Linked DNA regions of Homo sapiens: all the other regions are linked to region 1. The links are contacts of gene promoters, found by promoter capture Hi-C in blood cells and fetal thymus (Javierre and others, 2016). All regions are on one chromosome and are shown on one strand. Each heading gives the region's core, a stretch centred on a gene start or on the middle of the fragment in contact. The rest is flanking DNA. Distances are from core to core; before and after follow the strand shown. Region 1 holds the start of ADAMTS1 (ADAM metallopeptidase with thrombospondin type 1 motif 1). Region 2 holds the start of LTN1 (listerin E3 ubiquitin protein ligase 1). Region 3 has its middle 25 kb from the start of HEMK2.

Region 1 (3,454 bases), core at 654-3,153:
GAAGTCGAAGAGAAGGAGGTAGGCTGGACAATGCTTGACAATGCAGAAAGGAATCACACACTCAGGTGTGCGGATGTCAATGTTGAGTTTGAAGGAGAAATGCAACGGCGGGAGGGGGGGAGAGACAGCGAGGGCTGCAAAGGAGAGACTCAGTGAAAAGAGGTAGGCAGAAACACTATCAGAATGTTAATCGAGCGCTGTCAAAATATATCTAAGGCCTTGGTTGATTATTCAACGTTCAACGATGAGGGTGATTTTAGGAAACCAAAATTAAATCTACGAAACCACCCACTCCTAAATGTGTAGGGACTAGAGGTCGTTACTAAGCCCTTCAGAAGTAAGCTGAGTTGCTTCTCTCTGCCATTCTTGCTCATTTGATTTTTCCTGATGAGTGGAAAGCAATGTTTTTGTTTTTGTTTTTCAAGTAAGCAATCTCGCTAGGAAAAAAGAAGTTGGAAAGCATCCGGAAAAGAAAGCTTGTAAGAGGGACGTGTGGGAGAACTAGAAGGGACGCTTCTGGCTGGGGCCAACTGAAGTGGGGAAGATCTGGGGAGGAGCGAGGAAAGGACCCAGATCTACTTGGAGCCAACCAAGAGACCGGACGGGAGTGGGGCGGAAAGGCGGAGACCAGTTCGAGCACTAACGCGGGGGCGCGCGAGTGTGAGGGTTGCGGGTCCGCCCGGGGCTAGGGCGGTCGCTCTCGCCATTGTCCCCGCGGCTTTCCGCCTGTGAAACACGTCCTTCCTCTGGGTCCTTGAGCCCCTCCCACTTTTTGGAGAGAAGAGCCACTCAGTTTTTTTTCCTAAGGACCTGTTGGTGGACCTCTCCTCGCTTTCGTAACGCGGATATAGCCTTTTCCCTTCCTGGTAGGAAGAGGAAGGAGGGGTCCGGGAAGGAAGCCGATTTCCTTCTTTCCCCCTCTGCACGCTTGCTAGCCCCAGCGATCGCTGCTGGCCCCCGGGTAGGAAAGTGGGGTTCCTGGCCGTTTCTGCGACGCTGGCCTAGGGCTTGCAGCTGCTGTTGAGTGAAAGCACGCAGACTGGCGGGAGCCGATCATTTCTCGAATGAAGAAGAAAAAGCGCAATTCCCTCCTTATGCTCTAGGGAATTGAGCCGCGTCCCAGATCACCCATTCCAGAAATGTGAAACCGGGCCCTCACAAAGTCGTCTCTGGTGAAGAGGTGGCGTGCGGGGTGGGGGTTGGTGGAGGGTGAAGGCATAAGCAAACATATTTTAAAATCCAGATCGTAGGAAGTGTCACCTGGCCCCTCACCCAGGCATGCTTTCTGGGGGAAGCGCAGGGCCAAGCTTTCCCTAGAAAAGCTGGGGCGAAGAGAGAGCAGGCGGCGGCTAAGGAGCTCCTGGCAGGCTGGGAAGGTGGAGAAGTGGGGTGAGGTATTTTTCTAGAAAGTGTAGCCCTAGCTCATCTCCTAGATTGGGGAAGAGGGAACTGAGGGAGGAGGGAAGGAGACCCAGGGCAGCTCCAGGATAGGGAAATGTTGAAGAAGGGACTGCGTTCTCCAACCGAACCCTCCCTCCTGGGAACCGCAGCCCAGCGCGGTAACTGAGTTACCGCAACCGGGCGGTGGGGAGGAAGGGTGGTCCAGGAAACCGGCGAGGGAGAAAAGCGGTGGAAGGGAGAGTCTTCTCCCTGGAGCGGCCCCAGCAGTACAAAGTGCTGGTCACAGCGCCCCTTCCGCCCCTAGATTGACGAGCAGTGGCGTGGAGCCAGCGCGGAGGCTGCCCCCTCCCCCTCCCGAGCCCGCAGCGCGGAGCGCGGTTTAGCACCAACGGAGCCGGGGGCGGCGTCTTTGGGATGGAAAAGGGCCAAAGGGGAGGAGTGGGGTGGGGGTGGGGGTTTCACTGGTCCACTATAAAAGGACCGCTCGGCTGCCCGGTTCTTGCACTCGCTGGAAAGCGGCTCCGAGCCAGGGGCTATTGCAAAGCCAGGGTGCGCTACCGGACGGAGAGGGGAGAGCCCTGAGCAGAGTGAGCAACATCGCAGCCAAGGCGGAGGCCGAAGAGGGGCGCCAGGCACCAATCTCCGCGTTGCCTCAGCCCCGGAGGCGCCCCAGAGCGCTTCTTGTCCCAGCAGAGCCACTCTGCCTGCGCCTGCCTCTCAGTGTCTCCAACTTTGCGCTGGAAGAAAAACTTCCCGCGCGCCGGCAGAACTGCAGCGCCTCCTTTTAGTGACTCCGGGAGCTTCGGCTGTAGCCGGCTCTGCGCGCCCTTCCAACGAATAATAGAAATTGTTAATTTTAACAATCCAGAGCAGGCCAACGAGGCTTTGCTCTCCCGACCCGAACTAAAGGTCCCTCGCTCCGTGCGCTGCTACGAGCGGTGTCTCCTGGGGCTCCAATGCAGCGAGCTGTGCCCGAGGGGTTCGGAAGGCGCAAGCTGGGCAGCGACATGGGGAACGCGGAGCGGGCTCCGGGGTCTCGGAGCTTTGGGCCAGTACCCACGCTGCTGCTGCTCGCCGCGGCGCTACTGGCCGTGTCGGACGCACTCGGGCGCCCCTCCGAGGAGGACGAGGAGCTAGTGGTGCCGGAGCTGGAGCGCGCCCCGGGACACGGGACCACGCGCCTCCGCCTGCACGCCTTTGACCAGCAGCTGGATCTGGAGCTGCGGCCCGACAGCAGCTTTTTGGCGCCCGGCTTCACGCTCCAGAACGTGGGGCGCAAATCCGGGTCCGAGACGCCGCTTCCGGAAACCGACCTGGCGCACTGCTTCTACTCCGGCACCGTGAATGGCGATCCCAGCTCGGCTGCCGCCCTCAGCCTCTGCGAGGGCGTGCGCGGCGCCTTCTACCTGCTGGGGGAGGCGTATTTCATCCAGCCGCTGCCCGCCGCCAGCGAGCGCCTCGCCACCGCCGCCCCAGGGGAGAAGCCGCCGGCACCACTACAGTTCCACCTCCTGCGGCGGAATCGGCAGGGCGACGTCGGCGGCACGTGCGGGGTCGTGGACGACGAGCCCCGGCCGACTGGGAAAGCGGAGACCGAAGACGAGGACGAAGGGACTGAGGGCGAGGACGAAGGGGCTCAGTGGTCGCCGCAGGACCCGGCACTGCAAGGCGTAGGACAGCCCACAGGTAGAAGAATTGCTCTCGTTTGTCTGTCCATTCATCCTCCTCTCCTCACTTTATCTATCCCACGCGACTTCAGGGTAGACTCCTGCTGGCAGGCAGGATCATAAGTCCGCGGACAGAACGGAGGCCTGGAGTGGAGGAATGTGGTTTGAGGTTTGGATTGGTGAACTCAGCTAGAAAACATACTTGCATTTGCCCGAATAATGAATAACCAAGAAAAAAACTGACAAACGATTTTCTGCAAACTAAAGCAAAGCATTTAGGCCGGGGAGGGAGAGTTTGTAACCTGACTCCTTCCACCTTTAGCGAGTTGGAGCTTGTGCGAGTTCTTTCCACTCTGTGTATTTCTTTTTAATGATTTTGTGTGCGC
Region 2 (3,454 bases), core at 413-2,912, 2.1 Mb before region 1:
AATATGTCTCTTTGTGTGACTTTTTTCTGAGACAGTCTGCTCTGTCACCCAGGCTGGAGTGCAGTGGCATGATCTTGGCTTACTGCAACCTTCGCCTCCCGGGTTCAAGAGATTCTCGTGCCTCAGCCTTCCAAGTAGCTGGGATTGCAGGCACCTGCCACCACTGCCCAGCTAATTTTCGTATTTTTAGTAGCGATGGGTTTTTGCCATGTTGGCCAGGCTGGTCTCGAACTCCTGACTTCAGGTGATCCACCTGCCTCGGCCTCCCACAGTGGTGGGATTACAGGCATAAGCCACTGCACCTGGCTTTTGTGTGCATTTTAAAATCAGGGTCCAGTCAGGAAAACAGAAATCACATTAGTTATTGAGAAATATTTTAATATGGGAAATTGGTCAAAAGGAATTATAAAAGGTAACAGGTAATCACTGCAGGTAGCAGCTACCATTCCTAGAGCTAGGAAAGGATGGAACAAAAGAAGTGGTTGGAGTCATCAGAACCTAAAAGCTTGAAGGAGGGCCCTGAACACCTTAGTTCAGGCCTATGAAGAATGAAGAGAGGGTGATGGCTGGCTGTTACTGGATCTCTGGAGCACAAAGAAGGGATCCCACGGTGTTGAGGCTCAAACTTCTGAGGAGGTGGCTCAAACATTGGCTATCTCAGGAGCTCAGGGGAGGGGCCGCATGAAAGTAGAATTCAGATCTCTGAGGAGAGCACTGACTGCTGCTGTGATCTCTGAGGGGTGCAATAAGGCTGATTCTGTGATTGTTGGAAAAAGGATAGAGATTAAAACCACCTTTTGGCTAAAGCAATTGCTCCTGCCACGGTAAAATGCAGCTGCTGCTGGCATGATGCTTACAGAATGGAGCAAGTCCCTTCTTCCTCTTGCCTTTGTTTCCCTCTTGTTCGTCCTGTTGGTGGAATCTAGCAGAAGCCCCCCCAGTAACATGGAGTTGAGTATAAAAGGGTGACTGCGTGGACAAGAAACAATAACCAGCACACATTTACTTGTTTCTCTGGTGTGATTCTGAGTCGCACAATCAATGGGTTACAGGATTTGTACATTTCAAATTTTAATAGGGACTCCCACATTATCCTCTTTCCTAAACTGCACGTTAACAGTTTCAATATGAATAAAAGGGGACGGGGAGGGGAGATTTAGAGAGAATAGTGCCTACAGCAGTAATCAAATTTTAACAAGACTTGGGAATACTGTCAAAATGCAGGATCTGATTCAGGAGTTCTGAGGGGCCCGAGTTGGCCTTTTCTAAAAAACGCCCAGGTGATACTGATGATTGCATCATGTTGGAAGTCTAAAACACTCCCATCTTCCCACAGCCTCTACCATAACATTCTAATGCTACCCTTATGTGAAACTGCCCCTCTGATGATTCACGCCAGTTTCCTACCCTCTAAGCAAGGAACAAACCTAGCTTCTGAAAGCGGGGAGGACAGGATTTGGCGCCACGGGTCCAATGCTTGGCTTCCTATTGGCCAGGAATGACATCACTCAGACAGGCGTGGCTTTAGCTGTGACGTCTCCGGTGGCGGATGGTCAGGGACACAGCGGGAGGCGGGAGCGGAAGTGGGGCAGCAAATGGACAGGGTGGGTGGCGGAAAAGGGCCCGGGGGAAGTTATTACAGGGTGTCCTCTTCCGCCGCCAGAAGCCGGAAGTTGTGTCCCGGACGTGTCAACCGGGGTCTGAGTGCTCAGAGTACAGCTGCAACCGCGACCATGGGCGGGAAGAACAAGCAGCGAACTAAAGGGAACCTGAGGGTGAGCGGGGGCTGGCTCGGCCGACCCGGGAGCCTCGCTTCGAGGCGGCTGGCTCCGCCCAGCGCGTTGCTGGAGGGTGTGTGGAGCGCGGCTGTAGGGAGGCGTGTGTTTCCCTGTCGAGTGTGACCTCTCTGTTGTGTGTGCGTCCCTGAGAGCGGTTTGTGTTATCTCTGAGCAGATTGGGGAATCGTGAGAGAAAAGATGTACCATGCCAGAGCTGTCCTCATCCGAGCACACACCCATAATATTCATGAAGAAATGATAATGTGTCAGGTTCACTGGAAGGTGATCTGGCCGAGGTAGCGGGTTGGTTGGGGGAGGGCGGCGCTGGGAAGAAGGAGAGTTGGGAGAATGTTAAAGTGAATCCACTGTGGAGGTTACCGCAGATTGTGCCTCTCCTTTGCTACCTACAGTGGCTTCTCCTAAGCTAAAGCTCTTAGGATGGTATATTTGGTTTCTGGACTGCCTGTTACCCCTTTCCATCTGCAGTCCCATCTTCAGCTCCCTCCTCTTGGCTTACTTCATCCAGCCACACTGATCTCTTCACTGTGCCTTGACTACCTGGCCGGCTCCCAACGCTCTTCAGTTAGGTGGCTCCAAACTTTGCTCTCGACACCTCAGTGAGGTCTCCCATGATCACCCTCTTGGTAGCCCTTCCCCACTCCCATGTTCTTCCTACTTTATTTTACTCCATTGTATTTATGACATTTATTGTCTTGGTTCACTAGGACGTAAGTATTTTGAAAGCAAATGTTTTTATCCTCGGAACCTAGAACAGACTGGCACCTAATAGACGCTCACTAAGTACTTGCTTAAGGACGACCTTAAAGTGGATTCGTGTAAAACTACACGATGAGGGGTTTTGTAATGGTATTTTTTTATGGTGTTAGATTTATTATAGCACAGTCCAATTTTATGAGAATGCTTTTTTTTCCTGTTTCTGATGTAGTTAATTCTAGTGATTTCAATGTCACATTTTCTTAGATCTGTCACTTAATCTGTTTTGGAAGATAATAACAGTATTAACAATTATAGCAACCTGTTGTGTTACTGTGCTAAGCACTTTACTTGCATCTTTTAATGTTTTTTATTTAACAGATTTTCTCAAATGTTTTATATTTGAAAAGTTCTTATGAGGAAAAGTTGCAAGAATATTAGAACGACATCCCATATACTCTTTACCTACATTTACCAATTGCTAATACTTGGTTGCATTTGCTTTCTCTCTCTTAATTTATGTATTTTTCTGAACTTATAAGAGTTAGTTGCAGAAGTCGGGACTCTTAACTCCTAAATACATCAGCATGTATCTTCTAAAAACAATGCCATTTTCTAGCCTGCAGCAATTATAATAATGGTTATAGTATGCAGAAACTTTGACTTTTGTATAATACTGTAATCCAGGATACAGCCTTGTATTTAGACTTCTGTAGTTATCCCAATAATGTTCTCTTTTTTCTTTTTTTTTTTTTTGTAAGACAGGGTCGCTCTGTCTCCAAACCTGGAGTGTGGTGGTATGATCATGGCCCACTGCAGTGTCAACCTCTTGGGCTCAAGCGGTCAGTCCTCCCACCTCAGCCTCCTTAGTAGCTAGGACTCCTGGCTAATCTTTTTTTTTTTTTTTTCGGGGACAGAGTCTGGCTCTGTTACCCAGGCTGGAGTGCAGAGGCGTGAACTTG
Region 3 (3,454 bases), core at 573-3,072, 2.1 Mb before region 1:
TAAGCCTATCAGTATAAGCAAAAGATGTGAGATAGCAGTGGGAAAGAGAACAAAGTGACATAAAGCCCACTAAATTATTTAGTTCAGGGGAAATAAGGGCATTGAAAATATAAGAACTCAATAGAAGCAAATAAATATGGCCAGGCATAGTGGCTCACGCCTGTAATTCCAGCACTTTGGGAGGAAGAGGCCAGTGGATCACCTAAGGTCAGGAGTTCACGACCAGCCTGGTCAACACGACAAAACTCTGCCTCTACTAAAAATACAAAAAGAGGCAGGAGAATCGCCCGACCCCGGTAGGTGGAGGTTGCAGTTAGCCAAGATCACACCACTGCACTACAGCCTGGGCAACCATGTGAGACTCCATCTCAAAAATAAATAAGCCCAGAGAAAAAATTTCAAACTATTCAACTAAAAGTGGGAAATTGAAATTATAGTCAAAAACTTCCCCTCTCAAAAAAAGCCCACCCAGATGGTTTCATTGGTGAGTTCTATTAAACTTTTAAAAAACAATGAATTTTCTGGCTCTACCACTTGGACTGTATAAGGTTATTTCACCTCTCTGAGCCTTGGTTTCTTCTTCTGTAAAATGAAATCGTAACTGAAAATAAAGTGCTTAGCACAGTGCCTGGGTAGAAAGCATCCAGTAAATAATATAATTTCTGCTATTTTTACTACTTTTACTATTACGATTGCTACTTCTACTACTATTATTCATGAATCTTTAGAGTCTCCTGAGTCCCTGACAGCTACTGACATTGGGGCAAAGATAAGTCTATGAATATTTTTAAATTTGACTTACGGAAATAGATACTAGGTGTTGCAGGCATGAGAAGTGTTTCTTAGCATGATGAAATCTGGAGAAAAAAGTTTGAATTAATTCCAAAGTAAATCAGAAGTAATAGTTGGTGGCACTGGTAATGGAGCTGAATGCATTAGAAAATGTCAGTTATAAAAATTGACTGATCTGGGTGTGAGATCAGTCCAGTTACAGTACTGCCCAGTTACAGTAAGTTAGAAAGAGGAAACGGATGGGAAGAGTTTATTCTTGTCAGTGATTTACTGGCGGGAATAAGGAATGATATCGCTAACTAGGTGCCTACTCCAAGCCCCTACATCTTTGCTTCTGTTTAGTAGAGAGCAAATTTCAAATGGAAGTTTGGCTTTGCATATATATAGTCACTGCTCAAAAATATGTTTATCAATTTATCAATTTTGGTCTATCTGTCAATTTTGGTCTGTCAGTTTAACAATTTCAATAGCTTTGTCAATATCAATTAGGTCATTCATGATTTGTCACTCTTCTTCAGATAGCCAACATTTTCAAAATTGACTTCTTTACTAATATCAGATCCTCAGACTGTAAAGACTCTACTAATAAAGTGAAATTCACACCAGGGGTTTGTGTTCATTATTATGAACAAATGAAAGAAAATGTGCATTATAATCACTCTCTACAAAAACATGGTGACCAAACTACCTTTCCAGAAGCTTGACTTGAAAATTTAGTATTTACTGAGAACAAGAGAGATGAACACCTGAACAGGCTGGAAAACATATGGGGATAAATGCCTGAGTTCACAGCAAAATGTCTGGCAAGAGAAAGAATGTTAGTGTGAAATATACAGAAATTTTGGTTATAAATTTTCCCACCAAAGTTTCACTTCAAAAAACAAACAGTGCAGACTAGTTGTTGTGTCAGAATGGAAAAAGAGTGTACCTTAGGAACTAGTTCAGGAGGATATTTTAGTTCTCTTGCTTTGTTTTTTTCAATCAATCATGTGACTAGTTTGTGTATTTCCTTTCCTTGGGGAAATATGCTAACTCCGATCCAATGTTTTTTAAAAGCTCTTTCATCGTGTGCAAAATATCTTTGGTTAGTGAATTTACAAAATGTTCTTAACCTCAGAGAAAATAAATAAGTTAGAGAAAATTAAAATAAGTCCAAATCATTAAGTACATTTTTTCAAATCCCTCAAGTGTAGGAAGAATGTAGGTGGAACAGAACAACAGTCAGGCTTGGGCCAGAACCTAGAGAAATCTCCAAAGACGTCAAAAATGATTTCACATGAAGAGTTGTGTTCTTTTTTTCTTTAGGACTTCTTCAAAAGCAGAGGAAGGGCTGGAGAAAAACATGAAAAAGAAAAGCTTATCGGAATTCAAGGTTTGGCAAGAATACTTTCCCAAGCCCATCCAGCTTACCATCAATGATAATTCAATTTCAATCAAATCAAAGAGAAGGTGCCATGCTATGTGCTGAGCTTGTGTAGAAATATGAACAAGTCTGTATGCTCACCCTCACAAGCTGTTTAAGATGATGAAGCTGGGTTAAAGATGAACGACAATAACTATAATATTTTATGAGATTATAATATAACAATATTATGGAGAGGATTTTCAAGCCATCTTCTCCCAGAAGTCTAAGTGAGAGGAGCTCTACCTCTCACCTGTTCAAATCCTTCCTATCCCTCAAGGGCAGCGTTAGTCCCACATCTGGTTCAGACTCTCCAAAACTTTCCAGCCCGTTGTTGTTTATATCACAGATGTGAGGCCATTATAAGCACCTCTTGATTTGGGTTATAAAAACAGGAAAAGAGTGTATTTTACTCTGAGGGAGAAGACAGCTTAGTATGCAGAGGCAACAGAACAAAGTGGTCAAGAGAACAGATTTCAGGGCCAGCTGACTTTGCTACAAATCCCAGGATCACCACTGGGGAACACTGGAAAAGTTACTTAAATCTTTCTAAGCCTCAGTTTCCCCATCTTCAAAATGGAAATATTAATAGTTCCTACCTCATGGAATTGTGAGAATCAAATGAGGCAGCAACTGTACTTAAAATACTAGGGGGCAGGTTGGGCGTGGTGGCTCACACCTGTAATCTCAGCACTATGGGAGGCTGAGGTGAGCAGATCACTTGAGGTCAGGAGTTCAAGACCAGCCTGGCCAATATGGTGAAACCCCATCTCTACTAAAAATACAAAAATTATCTGGGTGTGGTGGTGCACACTTGTAATCCCAGTTACTCAGGTGGCTGAGGCAGGAGAATCACTTGAACCTGGGAGGCGGAGGTTGCAGTGAGCTGTGGTCGCACCACTGCACTCCAGCCTGGGCAACAGAGCGAGGCTCTGTCTAAAAAAATAAAAAATAAAAAACACTAGGGGGCACAGTCAACCACTGTGGCACAAGCCTGTAATCCCACTTACTTGGAAGGCCAAGGCGGGAAGATCAGCTTAGCCCAGGAGTTCGAGTCCAACCTGAGCAACACAGCAAGACCCCATCTCTAAAGAAAAAATGAGGTGGGGGGAATAAATATTAGACATATAAATGTTTGTTGGTTATGACTAATGTTCATCTATGCATTCCACAAATGTTCCTTGGGTGCCTTTTCTCTGCAAGATGCTGTTCTAGGCACTAGATCCTAACAGTGGGTAAAACAGACAAAGTTCCAGACCT

Evidence for each region. The method cuts DNA at HindIII sites, captures the fragments that hold promoters and counts their contacts. A CHiCAGO score of 5 or more calls a contact.
Region 2: a contact is called between the fragment with the promoter of LTN1 here and the fragment with the promoter of ADAMTS1 in region 1, in 4 of 17 cell types (fetal thymus, megakaryocytes, erythroblasts and 1 more). The highest score is 13.3, in fetal thymus.
Region 3: a contact is called between a fragment that was not itself captured here and the fragment with the promoter of ADAMTS1 in region 1, in 1 of 17 cell types (megakaryocytes). The highest score is 5.6, in megakaryocytes.

What each region holds. Positions count from the first base shown.
Region 1 is chr21:26,843,858-26,847,311 of GRCh38, reverse strand. It overlaps ADAMTS1 (ADAM metallopeptidase with thrombospondin type 1 motif 1), which reads left to right and starts at 1,903. Exons shown (of 9, transcript NM_006988.5): 1 at 1,903-3,087. The coding sequence starts at 2,358. RefSeq lists enhancers at 519-1,118, 1,119-1,719. The HindIII fragment of the contact is 3,865 bases long and covers 1,310-3,454 here.
Region 2 is chr21:28,991,085-28,994,538 of GRCh38, reverse strand. LTN1 (listerin E3 ubiquitin protein ligase 1) reads left to right here and starts at 1,662. Exons shown (of 30, transcript NM_015565.3): 1 at 1,662-1,775. The coding sequence starts at 1,734. It overlaps LOC105372766 (a long non-coding RNA gene), which reads right to left and starts at 1,436. Exons shown (of 3, transcript XR_007067835.1): 1 at 1,408-1,436; 2 at 858-969; 3 at 358-757. RefSeq lists enhancers at 1,378-1,437, 1,748-1,857. The HindIII fragment of the contact is 7,723 bases long and covers 508-3,454 here.
Region 3 is chr21:28,909,037-28,912,490 of GRCh38, reverse strand. No RefSeq gene overlaps it. Among named protein-coding and RNA genes, the nearest start is that of HEMK2, 25 kb to the right of the region's middle. The HindIII fragment of the contact is 657 bases long and covers 1,494-2,150 here.